Linked DNA regions of Homo sapiens: regions 1, 2 and 4 are each linked to region 3. The links are contacts of gene promoters, found by promoter capture Hi-C in blood cells and fetal thymus (Javierre and others, 2016). All regions are on one chromosome and are shown on one strand. Each heading gives the region's core, a stretch centred on a gene start or on the middle of the fragment in contact. The rest is flanking DNA. Distances are from core to core; before and after follow the strand shown. Region 1 has its middle 22 kb from the start of SAR1A. Region 2 overlaps PPA1 (inorganic pyrophosphatase 1). Region 3 holds the start of EIF4EBP2 (eukaryotic translation initiation factor 4E binding protein 2). Region 4 overlaps SAR1A (secretion associated Ras related GTPase 1A).

The links. Contacts are between HindIII fragments. The CHiCAGO score rates a contact against its expected background, and 5 or more counts as called.
Region 1: a fragment that was not itself captured here is called in contact with the fragment with the promoter of EIF4EBP2 in region 3 in 1 of 17 cell types (monocytes); the score reaches 6.2 in monocytes.
Region 2: a contact is called between a fragment that was not itself captured here and the fragment with the promoter of EIF4EBP2 in region 3, in 4 of 17 cell types (fetal thymus, naive CD4 T cells, naive CD8 T cells and 1 more). The highest score is 6.0, in fetal thymus.
Region 4: a fragment that was not itself captured here is called in contact with the fragment with the promoter of EIF4EBP2 in region 3 in 1 of 17 cell types (neutrophils); the score reaches 5.5 in neutrophils.

Annotation. Positions count from the first base shown.
Region 1 is chr10:70,190,794-70,193,978 of GRCh38, forward strand. No RefSeq gene overlaps it. Among named protein-coding and RNA genes, the nearest start is that of SAR1A, 22 kb to the left of the region's middle. The HindIII fragment of the contact is 2,431 bases long and covers 686-3,116 here.
Region 2 is chr10:70,222,577-70,225,730 of GRCh38, forward strand. All of the region lies in intron 2 of PPA1 (inorganic pyrophosphatase 1), which reads right to left. Among named protein-coding and RNA genes, the nearest start is that of PPA1, 9.3 kb to the right of the region's middle. RefSeq lists an enhancer at 1-165. The HindIII fragment of the contact is 3,628 bases long and covers 1-3,064 here.
Region 3 is chr10:70,402,658-70,405,959 of GRCh38, forward strand. EIF4EBP2 (eukaryotic translation initiation factor 4E binding protein 2) reads left to right here and starts at 1,488. Exons shown (of 3, transcript NM_004096.5): 1 at 1,488-1,889. The coding sequence starts at 1,745. RefSeq lists silencers at 1,360-1,549, 1,580-1,789. The HindIII fragment of the contact is 15,348 bases long and covers 1-2,763 here.
Region 4 is chr10:70,161,910-70,165,018 of GRCh38, forward strand. It overlaps SAR1A (secretion associated Ras related GTPase 1A), which reads right to left. Exons shown (of 7, transcript NM_020150.5): 2 at 1-22. The coding sequence starts at 6. It also overlaps the pseudogene CALM2P2. Among named protein-coding and RNA genes, the nearest start is that of SAR1A, 7.0 kb to the right of the region's middle. RefSeq lists an enhancer at 2,482-2,561. The HindIII fragment of the contact is 361 bases long and covers 1,157-1,517 here.

The DNA.
Region 1 (3,185 bases), core at 651-3,150, 210 kb before region 3:
TTGTTGCTTTTGCTGTGAGTAGATGTTTGCTGGATGATCTCACACTGATTATATTAAACCCCACTGAGAAATCTTTTGCTGATCTCTGGCATTTATTACAAGAGCAGCGGTTTCAAACATCAGAGTCCTGGTTGAAAAGTGGATTTTAGGCTGGGTGCAGTGGCTCATGCCTGTAATCCCAGAACTTTGGGAGCCTGAGGCGGGAGGATCACTTAAGGTCAGTAGTTTAAGACCAGCCTGGCCAACATGGTGAAACCCCATCTCTACTAAAAATACAAAAAATTAGCCAGGCGTGGTGGCGTGCGCATGTAGGCTCAGCTACTTGGGAGCCTGAGGTGGGAGAATCACTTGAACCTGGGAGGTGGAGGTTGCAGTGAGCTGATATCATGCCATTGCACTCCAGCCTGGGCGACAGAGTGAGATTGTCTAAAAAAAAAAGTGGATTTTAGGGCCCAGCACCTCCCAATTCTGATTCATTCGGCTTTTTTTTTTTTTTTAAACAGATAGCTCTGGTAGTTCAGGGACCACTTGGAGAAAGTCTGCCTTAGAGAGCTGGCAGCATTTATATCACTGGGTGTGCTGAACACCATTCATCAGTGTTCTCCTCCTACTTCATTGATTTTTTTTTTTAATAAAATAAGGCATACTGCATATGCTTTTAGAAAAATAATTCCAAGAGTACAGAAGCTTTTAAAGAAGAAGGAAACTCTCTGACCTTATCTATTCCTTGCTTACTCCACAGTTCCACTCCCCAGAGGTAATCATTGTTACTGTGGTTTTAGATTTCTTAACTGTGGTTTGGATTTGGATTTTCATTGTCTATGCTTATAGAAGCATATCTATTGATATACGTCTTTCCTCCAAATGCTCCCTTTGTAAAAAACACAAATAGGATCATATGATAGAGCAGGGATTGGAAAATGTTTTCTGTAAACAGACAAACAGTAAATACTTTTGGCTTTTGGGGCCATATGGTCACTGTCCTAACTACTGAACACTCCACTGTAGACGGAAGGCAGCCACAGACAATTTGCAAATGAAAAGATGTTGGCTATGTTCCAATAAAATTTTATTTACAAAACAGGCAGCAGGCTGGATTTGGCCCACAAGTCATAGTTTACCACTATAGAGTACTACAATTTTCTCTCCTCACTTATATATTTTGAACATCTTTTCCATATCAGTCCATGCAGTGATTTCACTCTTTAAGTGCTGTGGGTATGAGTAACAGATTCAGCCATTCCTCTGTGGGGCAGTTAAGTACTTTTCCAGATTTTGCTATTGCAAACAAAGCTGCTGTATACTATGTGTTTGGTTGACTGTTCTGCAGAATGAATTCCTAGAATTGCTGAGTCAAAGATTAAGTATGAATTTAAATTTTTGATAGATATTGCCAAATTGCTCTCAGACTTCAAGTTCAGATTGCCACATAACCTTGTGATTCTCATTGCTTAACCTTATTCCTGGCAAGTATTTCCTTAATTTAAAGGTTTTGTAATAATCAGGGAAAGATCTCAAAGATCGACAGAGGTAGCAATGAACTATATAGCAATTGATTCAAATTTATAACTCATAAAAACTTTTCCACCATGGCAATTTGCACAACATTCTTATTAATGCAAAAGTAAATTCCTTTCTGCCTTGAGACTCCCAGGAAGCAGTAGGAGCAGCTTTTTCTAAATGTAAAGAACGTCATGTGCAAAAGCACAAGTTAGGCCCTTGTAGAGCAAATATGCTTATCAGATTGAAAATAATTGCCATCAGAGCAGTAGCACGTGTAGGCCTGGGCTCAGTGGTGAGTGATTTGGGTTCTCATTCAGACCCTTTAAATAACCAGGCCAAGGCATCAAGTTTCCTTACCTGGGAAAAAAAAATGCATTGATCACACTAAGAGTTGCTGAGATCACAACTATAAACAACCAGGCTTCACCGAACGCCCACTATGACATGGACAGTGGGCAAGCTCCTTCACATATGTTCCTGCCAATCCTGTGACGCAGATGGGAAAACTAAAGCCCAGACATGTTAAGTACCCACTAATAATGATTGTGAAAGCAGACAAATAACATAAAGCTAGTAGGAAAATCCCTGGTCTCAAGGTCAGATGACCTGGGTCTAAGTCCTGCTTCAGCCACTTACTGACTTTGGATAAATTTAAGTGACTTTGGCTAAATTACTTAGGTTCTCTGCATCTTTTTCTTATAAAAAAAAAAAAAAAGAGGCTGGGTGTGGTAGCTCACATCTGTAAACCCTGTAAACCCAGCACTTCGAGAGGCTGAGCTGGGAAGATCACTTGAGTCCAGGAGTCTGAGGTTTGAGACCAGCCTGGGCAATATAGTAAGACCCCATCTCTACAAAACAATTTAAAATTTAGCCAGGCATGGTGGCACATGCCTGTAGTCCTAGCTATTCAGGAGGCTGAGGTGGGAGGATCGCTTGAGCCCAGGAGTTCAAGGCTGCAATGAGCTATGATTATACCACTGCACTCCAGCCTGGGCAACAGAGCAAAACCCTAACTAATAAATAAATAAGAAGAGCTTATTTCTCTCTGTGTTAAATGAGGTGTGTCAAAATACCTGGCACTCTCACAGTTATTTCCTTTACTCCATGGTAAGACTGGACTTCCTTACCACCTTGAGGTCAGGCATGGTCATTCGGCTTGCTCTAGCCAGTGAAATGTCTGTGATGTGCGTCACTTCTGGGCAGAAGCACCTAATCACCAGTGCAAGGCTCCACCACTTTCTTCCTCCGAGAGGCTGATCGACATGAGAAAGCACGTGTTAACACGGAGGCGTGATGCTAAGCTATCATAGGGGAACAGCTGCCCACAAGCAGAGCCTACTTTATGTGAGTGAGGAATCAACTTTTGTTTCCTTAAGCCATTGAGATTTGGGGGGATTGCTGTGCATAACCAAGCCCATCCTACTGTCAGGGTGACCTCATCTGTCTTGCTCAACACTATATCCCCAGTGTCTAAAACAGTGCCTGGCAAACTCAAATCTCAAGAAGTGTTCCTAAGAGGGCTGTTCCAGGAATTAAGATTTCTTTTGGCTTTAGTACCCAGATGACTTTTATCTAGCATGGATGATGAAAAAGAGAACTTTCCAAACACCCAAAGCTTCTCTTTGAGAGTTACGTGTTGTGTCCCACAAAAATTCATATTGAAGTCCTAATCCCCAGCACCT
Region 2 (3,154 bases), core at 1-2,500, 180 kb before region 3:
GGTAGAATTCTCGCCTGCTAAATCAGGTACTTCCAGTTTGTAGGCCTCAGGCTACAGCTTGGGGTGAGTGACTCATCTGTAAAATCAATGTTTAGCACACTTTTTTTTTATTATTATACTTTAAGTTTTAGGGTATATGTGCACAAAGTGCAGGTTTGTTACATATGTATACATGTGCCATGTTGCATGTTGGTGTGCTGCACCCATTAACTCATCATTTAGCATTAGGTATATCTCCTAATACTATCCTTTCCCCCTCCCCCCACCCCACAACAGGCCCCGGTGTGTGATGTTCCCCTTCCTGTGTCCACGTGTTCTCATTGTTCAATTCCCACCTATGAGTGAGAAATGCGGTGTTTGGTTTTTTGTCCTTGCAACAGTTTGCTGAGAATGATGGTTTCCAGCTTCATCCATGTCCCTACAAAGGACATGAACTCATCATTTTTTATGCATGGAATACTAGCACACTTTCAAATGCATGTAGATGCTGTAGTAATACTTGTCTCAGCCAGGCGTGGCGACTAACGTCTATAATCCTAGCACTTTGGGAGGCAGAGGCAGGAGGACCGCTTGAGGCCAAGAGTTCAAGACCAACCTGACCAACATAGCAAGACCCTGTCTCTTAAAAAACATTTTTTTAAAGAGAGAGAGAGAGAGAGACGGGGTCTCACTCTGTCATCCAGACTGGAGTACAGTGACGCAATCATAGCTCACTGCAGCCTCCAACTCCTGGTCTCAAGCAATCCTCCTGCCTCAGCCTCCTAAGTAGCTGGGCCTACAGGTGTGCACCACCACACCTGGCTAATTGTTTTTTAATTATGTTTTTGGAGATGAAGTCACACTATGTTGAGCAGGCTGGTCTCTAATTCCTAGCCTCAAGTGATCCTCCTGCCTATGCATCCCTAGTAGCTGGGACTACAGGTGCAAGCCATCCTGCCCAGCTCTGTACTTGTAAGGAGGGGGTGTTCCACATACTTTAGCAGGAATTACTACTAAAGAACAACCTTCTTCTAGACATCTGGCTACAATTCAAAGAGTTGCTACTAGGTGAACAACAGTGATATTTAGGATTTTTCAGGGCAACTGATATGAGAAATTCAATGAATTTTATAGCAACAGAGTTGCTATAAAAACTATTACTGTTTTTATGCATTCTAATGATTCCAATATTCACGCACTTAAAAAATACTGATTTTAAGAAATTTCGTACTACCCAGTTACAAATTCATTCCTTCTTCTTTAATCCCAACTGGTTTCAGCTTTTACTTAGCTGGATCTTGGATTTACTATCTTGTTACTCCCACTGTTAGGACTTCCCAGAACTCCATCCTCCAATCCTACCATGCTTTGGAGTCTCAGTCATTGCTCTGGCATCAGAGCTCTCAGCTCTCTGTTAACAGTTTCAGAAAAGAAGGAAGTTAAGTCTCCCTAGAGGGATGATTTTGATAAACTCAATAATTACCTTGCTGATAAACCAGTGGGGGATAAGGGAAAAGGCAAACTATAACTTTAGCTCTTGTTCCCAAAGTCAGAAATATAACTGTCTATTTCAGGCCAGGTATGGTGGCTCGTGCCTGTAAACCTAGCACTTTGGGAGGCTGAGGCAAGAGGATTGCTTAGACTAGGAGTTCAAGACCAGCCTGAGCAACATAGACAGACCCTGTCTCTACAAAAAAAAAAAAAAAAAAAAGTCTATTTCCCTTCCCAGATTTACAATCATTTTATCAAGTAGTCAAGATGTTACAACAAAACATTAAAGATGTCCAGATTCTAAGGAAACTGGAAACTCAACAACTCTACATTATGTCACTCCATTAATCAAAAATATTTAAAATAAAAATGTTTCAGGAATAGAAGAAATATCTCCTATATCTTGGTTAGGTGTGTAACTTCACTAATTAAACAGGAATATTAATCACAGTAGTATGGTGAGGCCCCGTCTCATCTCCAAACTGGTTAGGGTCTTATGGACCAAGTCAGTAGTCTGACAAGTTGTTTACTAATAAATAGGCTACGGCCATTTGGTAGGCTGTTATTACTAATGCAGTTAAGTACATATATAGGGAACATGCTCTTAATTTAATTACAGCACGTCTTTAAATCCTAGCAGTTAAGTTCAATGTGTCTTTATTGAGACTTATTTCTTATTTATTTATTTTATTTTATTTTTTGAGACAGAGTTTCGCTCTTGTTACCCAGGCTGGAGCACAATGGTGCAATCTCGGCTCACTGCAACCTCCGTCTCCCGGGTTCAAGCAATTCTCCTGCCTCAGCCTCCCGAGTAGCTGGGATTACAGGCATGCACCACCATGCCCAGCTAATTTTTGTATTTTTAGTAGAGACAGGGTTTCTCCATGTTGGTCAGGCTGGTCTCGAGCTCCCGACCTCAGGTGATCCGCCCACCTTGGCCCCCCAAAGTGTTGGGATTACAGGCATGAGCCACCGCGCCCAGCATTGAGATTTATTTCTAACCCTGGATTTGGTAAATTCGATGAACTATACTACAGAATTATACCAAGTGGCTGACATTAGCATTTTCAAGTTGACTCATTGTGTGTTTCTCTAGATAACTTCAGAAATCTAGTAAATACCAGGCTTAGAAAGAAACACAAAAATCACCCTGTGGTCCCACCACTCTTATTTATTTATTTATTTATTTAGAGACAGAGTCTCACCTGTCACCCAGGCTGAAGTGCAGTGGCATGATCTCAGCTCACTGCAACCTCCGTCTCCGGGGCTCAAGTGATCCTCCTACCTCTGCCTCCTGGACCACAGGCACCTGCCACCACACCCAGCTAATTTTTTTTTTTCTATTTTTGGTAAAGACCGGGTTTCACCATGTTGCTGAGGCTGGTCATGAACTCCTGAGCTCAAGCAATTCGTCCACCTAGGCTGCCCAGAGTGCTAGAATTACGGGCATAAGCCACGGCACCCAGCCCACCCCCCATTTTTTAATCTTTATTGTTTTGCAATAAAATTTGGAGAAAAAACAGTAGAGGTAGAGAGAATTTTCTTCTAAATTTATCTAGAGCATAAACATAAAGCAAGAAACTAATCCAAACCAAGCTTTAACTTTTTTTTTTTTTTTGGAACTTATAGACTAGTTTTGGAGTATAAAATCCCTATCAGAAGAGCTCACGTAGTTAAAAGAAAA
Region 3 (3,302 bases), core at 238-2,737:
AGGGGACTTTTTTTTCTGGATTCTTGGGGCACTCACCACAAAATCAGTACCATGTAATGCCCTGGCCTGCCCTGGGCTGTTGTAAGTTCTTTTGTCTATGTTCTTGCCAAGCACCTGTTTGACCCTCTGAGCAGTGAAGCAATAGCTGTTTTCCCCTCAACCTCTCTTACCCTTATTTCTCTCATTTGCAAAATGGGAATGATGGTAGCTATGTTGGCCTTACCCATGAGTGTCTTCCCAGTCCCACCTTGGGCATGTTGTGGGCAGAAGTAGTGCTGCCCTAGTGCAGCGGTTCTCAAAGTGTGATCTGGAGAGCCCCTCGGGGATCTGAGACAACCTTCTTTTCTAACTACATACCTGTGTGAGGCTGGGTTTTCTTCATATAGTTGAATCAACACATTACAACAGCTTGAACACAGAAACAGATATGAGAATACAGCTGTTTTCTATTAAGCCAGATATTAAAGCGTTTGCAAAAATATAAAATAATGCCACTGTTCTCACTATTTGTTTTAGATAATTAAAAAATATAATGTCAACATGTAATAGGTTATTATTTTATGAATTAATAAACATTTAAAACATTCTCAGTTTTAATTTGTTTTTTGTTGTTGTTGTTGTTGTTGTTTTTTAGAGACAGGGCCTCACTCTGTTGCCCAGGCCGGAATGCAGTGGCTATTCACAGGTACAATCCCACTAGTGATCAGCAGCGGCTCAGTTTTAATTTCTAATACAATAATTATCAATACATATAATCCACACAAACAAAAGCTCTTGGAAATCCTCAATAATTTTCAAGAATGTAGAGGTACTGAGACCCAAAGTTTGAGAACCCCTCGAGGAAAGAATAGAGTTCCAGATCTAGATTTTTCAGGTACCTCATGGTCTAAGCCCTCTCCTGTGCCTCATTTTAACTCTAATACAATAATACTCATTCTTGTTGCCATGAGTGGCTCTTGGTTTCTTCCTTTTCCTAATGTTTAGATCTTGCTTTATGTGTGTATATAGTGATGGTCTTTGGAAGGATACACAATTAACTGGTACAGCGGTTGAGGGGAGTTCGGAAACTGGGAGAAAGTGGCACCATAAACCTTTCTGCTCTGTTTGATTTTTAAAATACAGTACATCGTGCATGTAGTGCCTGAATTAATAATGAACAATTAAAAGTAAAATTACATTTTTAATGCATAGGAATGCATGAGAAACTCAAGTCTGCTCAAGTAAAGTGGTGTTAACCGACAATGACAAACAATAAGAAGAAAGTTTTCCTTGTCCGCCTTCACCAGGCTCACAAACACTTAGCTCGCGCTCCCTCTGGCTCTTCTCCCGCTCGCTGGGGTTAAGCCACTCTCTTCCTCAGCCCTGCCCCTCGTCCCCGCCCCCTTCAACAACTTCAGCCACGCCCCTCACTGCCTCGCCCCGCCCCGCGGCGACGTCACCTCCGGCCGACCAGCTTCCCCAACTCCCTCTGGCTCCCGCCTTCGCCCGCTTCCGGTCGTCGTCGTCGCCGCTGCTGCCGCTGCTGTTGCTCCTGAGGCTGCTGGCTGAGGCCGGAGGATCGAGCGGCGGCGGCGGCGGCGGCTGAGAGGGCGGCGGCGGGAGCGGAGCGGGACGAGGGAACGGGAGGAAGCGAGCGAGGAGCGCGCAGAGCGCGCTTTTCCGTCCGCCTGAGGAGCCGAAGCAGCCCCGGCCCCGCCGCCGCCGCCTGCCCGCCGGACAAAGCCGAGAGCCCGCGCCCACAGCCATGTCCTCGTCAGCCGGCAGCGGCCACCAGCCCAGCCAGAGCCGCGCCATCCCCACCCGCACCGTGGCCATCAGCGACGCCGCGCAGCTACCTCATGACTATTGCACCACGCCCGGGGGGACGCTCTTCTCCACCACACCGGGAGGTGAGCGCCGGCCAGCCGTCCGCCGCGCCCGGTGTCCCGCCGCGGTCCTCTAACTCCTCGGCGCCTCGGTGCCCGGCCGCTTCGCCCCCGCCCCCAGCTCCACCGAAGCCCCGGGGACGCTGCCCTTGGGCCCGCCCGAGCGTTCGGGACCCTTTACTTCGTGTTCGCTCTTGCCCGCAGCTCGAGTCGGCGCGCGCCCCACTCGGGAATGTGGCTGTCCTGTCGCGAAAAAGAGCTCTTGTTTCCGCTTCGTGGCAGGCTTACGCATTCGACCCAGTTCTCTCTCTCCTCTCTGCCTCCTTCCCGGGCGGATTTGGCTCCACTTGGCCTTGCATTACAGTCTGCATTGCCTGTCGTAGATTGTGCAAATTAATGCTTGATTTTGGAGCTGGCTCCGGGGCTTTTTAAAAAAGAACTTTGGGAGAGGAATTCGGCCCTGGCATCCTGCGATGGCTTGTTTTTGCTGCTTTTAGAACACCGGGAGGAGGCTGGAATGCGGAGTCTGGAAGCCTCGCCCAGCGTTATCCCGCTTTGACAGCATTGTTTACTTTGCTGGACGAGGCCCCACGGGTGAGGGGAGTCCCCAGGCCGGGAGGAGAGCGTGATAAAATAAAGCTCAAGTAATAGCCAAGGGAAAGTAGGTGGGGGTGGTAGGGTGCTGACAGCCTTAAGGTAGGGTGTCTTTCGGCAGCGACGCCTTTGGAAATGGATTGAAGGACCTTTGTCAAGGACACCCCAGTTGGGTGGGGTGGTTGCTTGATCCTGTGGAAGGGGCTAGAGAGAGGCAATCCAGAGAGAGGGTGGTTCCCTGGCATTGCTTTTCAAAGCATGACCAGGAACTGTTTACAAATAAGTAATACTGGGGTAGAGGTGAAGCTTGGTCACGGGAAGAGAGCTCAAAGGTTGTCTGTGCCCTAACTGGGCTGTCCTCCAGAGGGAGGAGCCTGGAAAGCGATTTTGAGGAGCCTTATTGAAGGGAACGGGGCCTCCTTTTTAACTTCAGAACTTTGTCTTCTTTTGGTGCTGGGGTGGCCTCTTGCTAGAGGGTGGGGACTTCGCAGCTCCTGCGGTCTAGAGGATTGCTAGCCTTGTTCCTGTGGGCAGGGCTCAGGAGCTGTACTACAACCAATCCGATGCAGTTAGGCCTGGACCATCCTTAAATCAGTTGCACAATAGCAAGGCCTGTGGAGTAAGGAGACCTTCTTGCCAACACCAAGGGATAAAATCTAGGAGGGAGCTTTACAGAGAAATTCAGCCAGGCCGCTCTGGGGGCTGGGCGGGCTGCCTTGAAAGGCTTTTTAAATGACCCAGGCAGAAGTTCAGTAATATATATGGAGAGCTGGGTTTAAGGAAATGTTAACTTTGCAGAATAGTGGAGTTCTTAGGTGGCTTAACTCATGGAAGAAATCTCCC
Region 4 (3,109 bases), core at 87-2,586, 240 kb before region 3:
AGACATTATTAATGCTTACTACCTGTATAAAATATGAAAGTAGCAAACATTAGCTTTCTGAATGACAGTACAATTGTGGAGAGGTTAACTCTTGTTCCCTAGCCATGATGCACATTTATAGTCTCTTGTTTTCGGGAATAAGAAAGCAGGCCAGGCATGGTGGCTCACACCTGGAATCCCAGCATTTGGGAAAGCCAAGGCAGGCGGATCACTTGAGCCCAGGAGTTCACAACTGGCCTGGGCAAGAAAGCTGGACTCAATCTCTACAAATAACTAAAAAAATAGCTGGACATAATGACACACACCAAGAGTCCCAGCTACTCAGGAGGGTGAGACAGAAGAATTACTTGAACCCAGGGGTTTGAGGCTGCAGTGAGGCATGACGGTGCCACTGCACTCACTTGGGCAACAGAGGGAGACTCTGATAAAAAAGACAGGACAGGACAGGAGAAAGGAAAGGGAAGGGAAAGGGAAAGGGAAAGGGAAAAGGAAAGGGAAAGGGAAAGGGAAAGGGAAAGGAAAGGAAAGGAAAAGAAAAGAAAAGAGAGGGGAGGGGAGGCGGGGCAGGGGAGGAGGGGGAGGGGAGGAGGGGAAGGGGAGGAGGGGATGGAAGGGGAGGGGAGGAAGCAAAGTAAAGAGAAACTAATATTCTTTCTTGACACAGATTTTGCAATCTGGAGGAGAGTCTAGAATCCTTATATGTGCAAAAATAACTTGTTTCCTAATAGTTTTTGATCTATGATACTCAGAGAACTAGGAGTTAAAAATATAAAGGCATACCTCATTTGATGATACTTTGTGGATCCTGAGGTTTTCTGGTTTTTTTACAAATTGAAGGTTGGAAGCAGCCCTGAGTTGAGTAAGTGTATCAGTACCATCTTCTAACAGCATGTGCTCCCTTCATGTCTCTATGTTACATTTTGGTAATTCTCACACAATATTTCAAACTTTTTCATTATTCTTATATCTGTCATCATGATCTATGATCAGTGATCTTTGGTATTACTAGTATAATTGTTTTGTTGTGCCACAAACCACAACCATAGAAGACAGCAAACTTGACTTCCTCCACAGTCCTGCCCCCACCCCAAGCCTCCCTATTCTCCAAGTGAAAGTAACAGGTCTCTCCCTTGAAAGCAAAAGTTAGAAATGATTAAGCTTAGTGACGAAGACACATCAAAACCTGAGATAAGCCAGAAGCTAGGCCTCTTGCACTCAACAGTTACCCAAATTGCAAATGCAAAGGAAAAGTTCTTGAAGAAAATTAAAAGTGCTACTCCAGCAAACCCATGAACGTCAAGAAAATGAAACAGCCTTATTGCTGATAAAAAATAATAATAAAATAAAAACACGAGGTAAAAAAGCAAGTGCTGATGTAGAAGCTGCAGCAAGATAACTGATGAAGGTGGGTGGCTACACTAAACAACACATTTTCAATGTAGGCAAAACAGCCTTCTATTTGAAAAGCCATCTAGGACTTTCATAGCTAGAGGGGAGATGTCATTGCTTGGCTTCAAAGCTTCAAGGGGCAAGCTGACTCTCTTGTTATGGGCTAATGCAAGGTGACTTTACGTTGAGGCCAATATTCATTTACCATTCTGAAAATCCTAGGACCCATACTCATTTACCATTCTGAAAATCCTAGGACCCATACTCATTTACCATTTTGAAAATCCTAGGGCCCTGAAGAATGACACTAAATCAGTCCAAGTGGAGCAAGTGAGCGAGCAGAGTGGTTGTGTGGTTGCGTCTCGGAAACCAGTAGCACTTGCAGCATGGCTGACCAACTGACTGAGGAGCAGATTGTAGAATTCAAAGAAGTTTTTTCACTATTTGACAAAGATGGTGATGGAACTATAACAACAAAGAAACTAGGAACTGTAATGAGGTCTCAGGCAGAATCCCACAGAAGCAGAGTTACAGGACATGATTAATGAAGTAGATGCTGATGGTAATGGCACAATTGACTTCCCTGAATTTCTGACAATGATGGCAAGAAAAATGAAAGACACAGACAGTGAAGAAGAAATTAGAGAAACATTCTGTGTGTTTGATAAGGATGGCAATGGCTATATTAGTGGTGTAGAACTTCACCATGTGATGACAAACCTTGGAGTGAAGTTAACAGATGAAGAAGTTGATTAAATGATCAGGGAAGCAGATCCTGATGGTGATGGTCAAGTAAACTATGAGTTTGTACAAATGATGACAGCATAATGAAGACCTTGTACAGAATGTGTTAAATTTCTTGCACAAAACTGTTTATTTGCCTTTTGTTTGTAACTTATCTGTAAAAGGCTTCTCCCTACTGTCAAAAAAAAATATGCATGTATGGTAATCAGGACTTCATTCCTCCATGTGTTCTTCCCTTACTGTCATTGCCCTGAAACCTTATTTTAGAAAACTGATGAAGTAACATGTTGCCTGTGGCTTACTCCGGATATATCTAAGCCCTTCTGCACATCTAAACTTAGGTGGAGTTGGTCAAATAAGGGAACATCCGGGTTATGCCTTTTTTTAAAGTAGTTTTCTTTAGGAACTGTCAGCATGGTGTTGAAGTATGGAGTTGTAACTCTGTGTGGACTACGGACAGCCAACAATATGTACTTAAAAGTTGCACTACTGCAGAATGGGTGTATTATCCAGGTACTCCCAGGTACCTCACACACTGTTTTTTCTGTACTGCTGGTCCTGTACCAGAAACATTTTCTTTTACTGTTACTTGCTTTTTAAACTTTGTTTAGCCACTTAAAGAAAATGTGCTTATGGCACAATTTGCCTCAAATCCATTCCAAGTTGTGTATTTGTTTTCCAATTAAAAAAATTACAATTAAAAAAAGAATTATACTAAATCTACTCTGCCTACCACACATCTGTTTACAGCATGGTTTACTAAGTATTTTAAGCCCACTGTGAAGACCTATTGCTCAGAAAAAAAGATTTGAAGATATTACTGCTCATTGACAACGCACCTGGTCACCCATGGGCTTTGATGGAGGTGCAGAAAGAAGTTAATGTTGTTTTAATGTCTACTAACAACATCCATTCTGCTTCCCATGGATCAAGGAGTATTTTCGATTTGCCAGTCTTTCATTTAAGAAATATATTT